2 separate regions of the Homo sapiens genome follow, and region 1 is linked to region 2. Evidence: promoter capture Hi-C in 16 types of primary human blood cells and fetal thymus (Javierre and others, 2016). All regions are on one chromosome and are shown on one strand. Each heading gives the region's core, a stretch centred on a gene start or on the middle of the fragment in contact. The rest is flanking DNA. Distances are from core to core; before and after follow the strand shown. Region 1 overlaps NBEA (neurobeachin). Region 2 holds the start of ZAR1L (zygote arrest 1 like).

Region 1 (3,751 bases), core at 202-2,701, 2.6 Mb after region 2:
CCCCAGTCCCCACATACACCGTCCCCAGCGCCTTTCCCTCCCACCCTTCACCCCCAGGGTCACACGCGCCGCGCGTCCCTGGGAGCGCAGAGCGTTCAGCCGGTATTGCCCAGCGGGTGACCTGCCTGCGCGCTGCTAGAGCCACGCCACCTCCCTCCTCTCCTCTTTCTGGTCCTCTCCTGCCACCTGAGCGCAGTGCCCAACTTAACACCGCTTCTTCTCACTTTTTAGGACCGCGAGTAACCCAGTACCCGCGGTGAAGGTTTTGGGTCGACTTTAGAGTTTAGTTAGGAGGTGAGGAGGCCTCCTGTTCTCTGGGGTTCTTTTTCTCACACTTAATTGTCCTTGGTGTCGCTCTCCGAGGATGACAGCCTTGCCCCTGGAGCCTAAATTCCCCCGTGCTGCTGAAATGTGAGAAGCGCATTAGCTTCCAACTTGAGCAGCTGGGGTGTGATGTTTTCGAAGGAGACAGAAAATGATGCAGTTTTGCATCTGTCTTTAAATATTCCAAGGCCATGATGGAGAGTGTTGTGTCTGTATCCATCCCCCTCCATCTCAGAAGCAGCCGTCCCTTCTTTGTAATATTGCCCTGAATATACTGATCTCTTAGTCATTTTTTGTGCACACAAGGTGTGTGAGGACACCAAATCACACAGGTTGATTTCTGTGGTTACTTTCAGTAGTGTGGCATGTGGGTAAAGACTAAAGGAAAGGTTTTAAACGCAGCCCTAGGTTTTGGTTCCTTTCATGGTAAGAAAGAGTTACTGCAGAAGTGTGTATGACTTAATGTTTTGCGCTATCTACAGAGAGGCTCAGAAGCGTTTAAGATGTCAGGGAAAGAAATGGAAAGAAGGAGAGGAGAATCATACATTGAGGATAATTAACAGTAGTTCATATTTAGTGCTTTGTAAATGGAGGTTTTGTTTTGTTTTGTTTTGTTTTTAAATGCAGCCAAGCTTTTTAAACAGTTTTCTCTGCAATAGATCTAGTCTTTGACATACTGTAAGGTTGGGCTTTGGGAGGCAAGACATAAATCGAGAGCAATCAGTTGAGTATTGTATTTGGTGTGGGGTCACAGGAATATAACAATATGCTTACAGGGGTACTTTGTAACACCCATGCAGTCATTTTTCAGCTAAGCAATTATTTTTACTTACTCTATTGGAAAACTGAGAGAAAGCTGCAGCTACATCAGTGGTGTCCTGAGACATGCATTAGATAATGTCTACGGTTTATGAACCTCGTAAATGCACAGAAAAGTTGAAGCTGTTTTTTTCCTTTTGCTAGTGTGTCAGGTCAAAGGAGATTATCTGTCTTTGTTATATTCATTGCTGTTTAAAACAAAACACCTCTTTTTACTTTTTTGTACCTTTCAAATAAATCATCATGAAAAGTCAGTGTAAGTTTGAGGGAATGTCACTAAGTTGATATAACCAAGTTCTTTTCAGAACACTACTAGAAATACAGTTTTCTTGAGTTTTAATTTTAACTAGCTGCAAATAAGAGGTCAGTACTTGCCATTTCTTTTTAAAAGAAGATAAATCTCAAACTGTTAGTATGTTAGCAGGTAACTGTATTTCTGTAATTTAAAGGAACACATTTTTAGTTGCAGTTTTGATCTAACCAATATCATTTTTAAGTTAGATTATATTAGGCTATTTTAGTAAGTATTCCTATGCTTACTTAATACATTTTAACCTGGTAAGAGGCAGTAGAGCTTTCACAACCTGGAAACTGATTTGAATGTATAACCAGTTTGGACTCTGCAGCAGTAGCAATGTGTGCTGAATCAGTTCTTAACAGATGGGGTTTTTTAGATATACGGTAGACTAAGAAAGGAAGTGAAATGTTTCTCTTGAGATAAAAAAGAAATTTAACTCTTCAGAGCAATGAAAATCTGACATGAAGTTTCAGTATGCAGACGTTATTTTAGAGAACTTTACCATTAAGCTTAGAGTCACTAGAAATAAAGTAATACTGAGATAGTATATCCCCAAATCTACCTAAGATTTTGTAACTGCAATGATATTTGGAATTTAAAGAGTTAGGTTTAAAATTTCTTTGTATGTATTTAAAGAATGCAATAGATTTTTAAATAGAAACTTTTGGAGAAAAGAATAAATGACAAAAGGAGCTGTTTATTACTAAGTTGTTAATTATATTAATTGTGGAGTATAAATTAGTCATTTGAAGTGTAATTTTCTTGAACTGTAGATTTAGGGCTTTATTGTCCAATACACTCATGAAAATGTCATATGAAAATTTAAGTGGATTCTCAAAAATATGTGGAAGTCATGGGCATTTAAAAAACTGATTATCAAACTTAATTCTATTTATTTAGTAAGTAAACCAATAAAATTCATATAGGACACTCAGTGACTCGTTAGAGTTTGGAAACCTTTAATATTAAATCTAAAATGATTTTTTAAAATTTTCAGTTTTAGTTTAACACATTAAATAAAAATGTAAGGTGAAATAGTGAAATACCTATTACTGTGCCCTGAATGACAGAAAAGAAAGGAGAACTAATGAAACTTCAAAAAAAAGAGGAGTTTCTACCTTAAACAATACCTTTGTCTCAGTCGCCTTTGTCAGTATATTTTTCTTTCTTTTTCCTGTTTATTTTTTCTTCCTATGTAAGGATACTCATAAATACTTGGTTTTTAGGTGCTGTTTCTCACATGCCTTGGCCAAAGAATTAAAAGCTGGGCAGAGTGAAGTTTTAAGCATGCACTAAAGTGTAGGACTTCTTCAACAGAGCGGTGGCTGTAATTTTTCTGCTTTGTTTCCCAAAGGTCTAGAGACCTATTTTTACTACTAGGTGGATTGTGGGAGTTTGGTGAGGAATCACCAATGTGATATGATATAAAATTAGTCATTTTTATTAGAGATGTATGTATTTTGTATAATGATGTTATAGTTGACTTAAAACAGTGAAATATGGAATGGATAATGTTAGGAAGGTAGGTAAATTAGTTTGTGAATAAAGTTACAGTCAGAGTGCATTGTCAAGGATTTTGCATTGTAGCTCTACTAATGAAAGAAACTGATCGTTAACAAAGTTTGGCTTCTGGAGGAATTATTTAAAGTGGCAATATAAGAGAATTTAACTACAGAGAAGAGATTTTGTTGATTGTTTTCAGTTGTAAAACTGGCGTACTACCTAATCTATTACTTCTTTTGTAAACACACTTAACATATGTTTATATAAGCTTTATCCATATTTGAAGTAAAAGCTATGTAAGTATCGTGTTATTGTTGCTTATAACATGGAAGTTTCTTTTATAAACATAAATTTCTAGAAAAATATGTTTATAATAGAGGATTAATATTTACTTAGTGAAAGAATTCATAATTTTTTTGGAATGGCTTTCTTATGTGTATAGTATAATTCTATGATTATAATTATGGAATTTAATTATAGACAAATTTTTTATGAATAACTGAATTCATGAAATTTTTTCATGAAATTTTTTCATGGATTTGTAGTTTTTTTTCATGAGTTACAGTGAGTTATATCAGTGTGTCCAGTTGTAGAAAATGATATTTCCTCTGATTTTTTTTTTTTTTTACATTCTAAGTGGCATGCTGTTGGCTGAACTGGAAGCCTAATAAGATGCTTTGAAGGGATTTGTGGTTTACCAAATTTCTCTCATCTTGGCTTATGGATCATGGTATTTTTGTTAAAAGGGTAACTTTAAGGTTTTTTTTTTTTTTGTACTTGAATATGGCAGTAACTCTTCTTCCTTAG
Region 2 (3,425 bases), core at 926-3,425:
CTGAAAAGTTTCAAAGAGAAATTTCAGGTGCTCTCACCGCACACAAAAGAAAGGTAATTATGTGAACAGATGGATATGTTAATTGCTTGACTATAGTAATCATCTCACTGTGTACATATACATGTTGTGCACATTAAATATATACAACTTTTAGGAAATAATGGTTTTTTGGGTTTTTGTTTGTTTGCTTGTTTGAAATGGAGTTTCCTTGCTCTGTCTCCCAGGCAGGAGTGCAGTGGCATGATTTCGGCTCACTGCAACTTCCGCCTCTGGGGTTCAAGTGATTCTCCCACCTCAGCCTCCCAAGTAGCTGGGATTACAGGCACATGCCACCACACCCAGTTAATTTTTGTATTTTTAGTAGAGACAGGGTTTTGCCATGTTGGCCAGGCTGGTCTCGAACTCCTGACCTCAGGTGATCTGCCCACCTTGGCCTCCCAAAGTGCTGTGATTACAGGCGTGAGCCACCATGCCCAGCTGGAAATAATGTTTTTAAGAAAAATTAAAGCATATTGTAAATTGAATACAAATAGTAAATTGAGCAGCTGCACTAGAAGAGAATAGGTGAGAAAGTCTATTATGGTGGAGCTAATAAGTTGCAAGTCCCTGGTACAAAGAGAACAAGAAACATAAAGGTATGGGGGGCTGTATAAAATGACAGAAAATGTTATTTCTGAGACTTGTGTGACATGCCACGGGTTCTCATTAGTCCACTCCTAGTGAGACACCCCTCCCCCACAAAAAGGGGACAAAGCATATTGTTCTGATTTATAGGGTAAATAAATCACAGGTTAGTTAAGTGTATGAAGTCAAATGGACTAGAATTCAAACCTGGGCCTTACTACCAGGCACATTACTTAACTACTTGATTCAGTATCCTCATCTGACAATACTGACCAATTTACAGGATTACTGTAAGATTAAACATGGTATTGCTTGAAAACCCAAAGCAGAATGCCTAACTCATAAAATGTTTGGTAAGTGGCAGCTGTTATTAGTAAGGATCACAGACGTATTTCTTTGCGAATTAGACTTAGAGCAAAAGCTTTAGAATCTATCTGCATTAGTAAGGCCTCCTTCTACAACTAAGGATTACTGATTATCAAACTAAAATGGTCCCTAAGGAACCAAGCGGAGCCCACCCTTTTCCTAATCCAAGGTTGCTTCTGTTTACTGCTCAAGCACCTTCTGGAAGCAGCAAGGCCCCCATGGGAGCAACTCTCACTGAATCCATTTGAAGGTTTTGTAGGTCTTACAACAAACCCTATTCAGCCTTGTATTAGGCATGTTACAGAACCAACGAATTCGGAGATGAAGTCAGGTCTTCCAGTTCAGCCTGCGAGGAAGACAGGTGATCCGAATCCTAAGAATGCAAAAGATGGGCCGGGTGTGGTGGCTCATGCCTGTAATCCCAGCGCTTTGGGAGGCCGAGGCAGGCAGATCACCTGAGGTCGGGAGGTTGAGACCAGACTGACCAACAACGGAGAAACCCCGTCTCTACTTAAAAATGCAAAGTTAGCCGTGCGTGGTGGCCCATGCCTGTATTCCCAGCTACTCGGGAGGCTGAGGCAGGAGAACCACTTGATCCCTGGAGGCGGAAGTTGCGGTGAGCGGAGATTGCGCCATTGCACACCAGCCCGGGCCACAAGAGCGAAACTCCGTCTCAAAAAAAAAAGCAAAAGATACTACCAAGCCCTGCGGAGCAAGGTACCTCACACTTCATGAGCGAGTTAAGATGGGTTTCACAATTTTTCAAGCAAGGAAACGGGCTCGGAGGTCTTGAACACCTGCTACCCAATAGCAGAACAGCTACTGGAACTAAAATCCTCTGATTTCAAATAACAGCCCCGCCCACTACCACTAAGTGAAGTCATCCACAACCACACACCGACCACTCTAAGCTTTTGTAAGATCGGCTCGCTTTGGGGAACAGGTCTTGAGAGAACATCCCTTTTAAGGTCAGAACAAAGGTATTTCATAGGTCCCAGGTCGTGTCCCGAGGGCGCCCACCCAAACATGAGCTGGAGCAAAAAGAAAGGGATGGGGGACTTGGAGTAGGCATAGGGGCGGCCCCTCCAAGCAGGGTGGCCTGGGACTCTTAAGGGTCAGCGAGAAGAGAACACACACTCCAGCTCCCGCTTTATTCGGTCAGATACTGACGGTTGGGATGCCTGACAAGGAATTTCCTTTCGCCACACTGAGAAATACCCGCAGCGGCCCACCCAGGCCTGACTTCCGGGTGGTGCGTGTGCTGCGTGTCGCGTCACGGCGTCACGTGGCCAGCGCGGGCTTGTGGCGCGAGCTTCTGAAACTAGGCGGCAGAGGCGGAGCCGCTGTGGCACTGCTGCGCCTCTGCTGCGCCTCGGGTGTCTTTTGCGGCGGTGGGTCGCCGCCGGGAGAAGCGTGAGGGGACAGATTTGTGACCGGCGCGGTTTTTGTCAGCTTACTCCGGCCAAAAAAGAACTGCACCTCTGGAGCGGGTTAGTGGTGGTGGTAGTGGGTTGGGACGAGCGCGTCTTCCGCAGTCCCAGTCCAGCGTGGCGGGGGAGCGCCTCACGCCCCGGGTCGCTGCCGCGGCTTCTTGCCCTTTTGTCTCTGCCAACCCCCACCCATGCCTGAGAGAAAGGTCCTTGCCCGAAGGCAGATTTTCGCCAAGCAAATTCGAGCCCCGCCCCTTCCCTGGGTCTCCATTTCCCGCCTCCGGCCCGGCCTTTGGGCTCCGCCTTCAGCTCAAGACTTAACTTCCCTCCCAGCTGTCCCAGATGACGCCATCTGAAATTTCTTGGAAACACGATCACTTTAACGGAATATTGCTGTTTTGGGGAAGTGTTTTACAGCTGCTGGGCACGCTGTATTTGCCTTACTTAAGCCCCTGGTAATTGCTGTATTCCGAAGACATGCTGATGGGAATTACCAGGCGGCGTTGGTCTCTAACTGGAGCCCTCTGTCCCCACTAGCCACGCGTCACTGGTTAGCGTGATTGAAACTAAATCGTATGAAAATCCTCTTCTCTAGTCGCACTAGCCACGTTTCGAGTGCTTAATGTGGCTAGTGGCACCGGTTTGGACAGCACAGCTGTAAAATGTTCCCATCCTCACAGTAAGCTGTTACCGTTCCAGGAGATGGGACTGAATTAGAATTCAAACAAATTTTCCAGCGCTTCTGAGTTTTACCTCAGTCACATAATAAGGAATGCATCCCTGTGTAAGTGCATTTTGGTCTTCTGTTTTGCAGACTTATTTACCAAGCATTGGAGGAATATCGTAGGTAAAAATGCCTATTGGATCCAAAGAGAGGCCAACATTTTTTGAAATTTTTAAGACACGCTGCAACAAAGCAGGTATTGACAAATTTTATATAACTTTATAAATTACACCGAGAAAGTGTTTTCTAAAAAATGCTTGCTAAAAACCCAGTACGTCACA

What was found. Contacts are between HindIII fragments. The CHiCAGO score rates a contact against its expected background, and 5 or more counts as called.
Region 1: a fragment that was not itself captured here is called in contact with the fragment with the promoter of ZAR1L in region 2 in 1 of 17 cell types (total B cells); the score reaches 5.8 in total B cells.

The regions. Positions count from the first base shown.
Region 1 is chr13:34,943,145-34,946,895 of GRCh38, forward strand. All of the region lies in intron 1 of NBEA (neurobeachin), which reads left to right. Among named protein-coding and RNA genes, the nearest start is that of NBEA, 2.8 kb to the left of the region's middle. RefSeq lists a silencer at 677-766. The HindIII fragment of the contact is 994 bases long and covers 955-1,948 here.
Region 2 is chr13:32,313,188-32,316,612 of GRCh38, forward strand. It overlaps ZAR1L (zygote arrest 1 like), which reads right to left and starts at 2,176. Exons shown (of 6, transcript NM_001136571.2): 1 at 2,128-2,176; 2 at 1,143-1,363. It overlaps BRCA2 (BRCA2 DNA repair associated), which reads left to right and starts at 2,321. Exons shown (of 27, transcript NM_000059.4): 1 at 2,321-2,480; 2 at 3,235-3,340. The coding sequence starts at 3,274. RefSeq lists a silencer at 1,372-1,592, a cis regulatory region at 1,711-1,777, a promoter at 2,106-2,602 and an enhancer at 2,711-2,980. The HindIII fragment of the contact is 7,545 bases long and covers 1,900-3,425 here.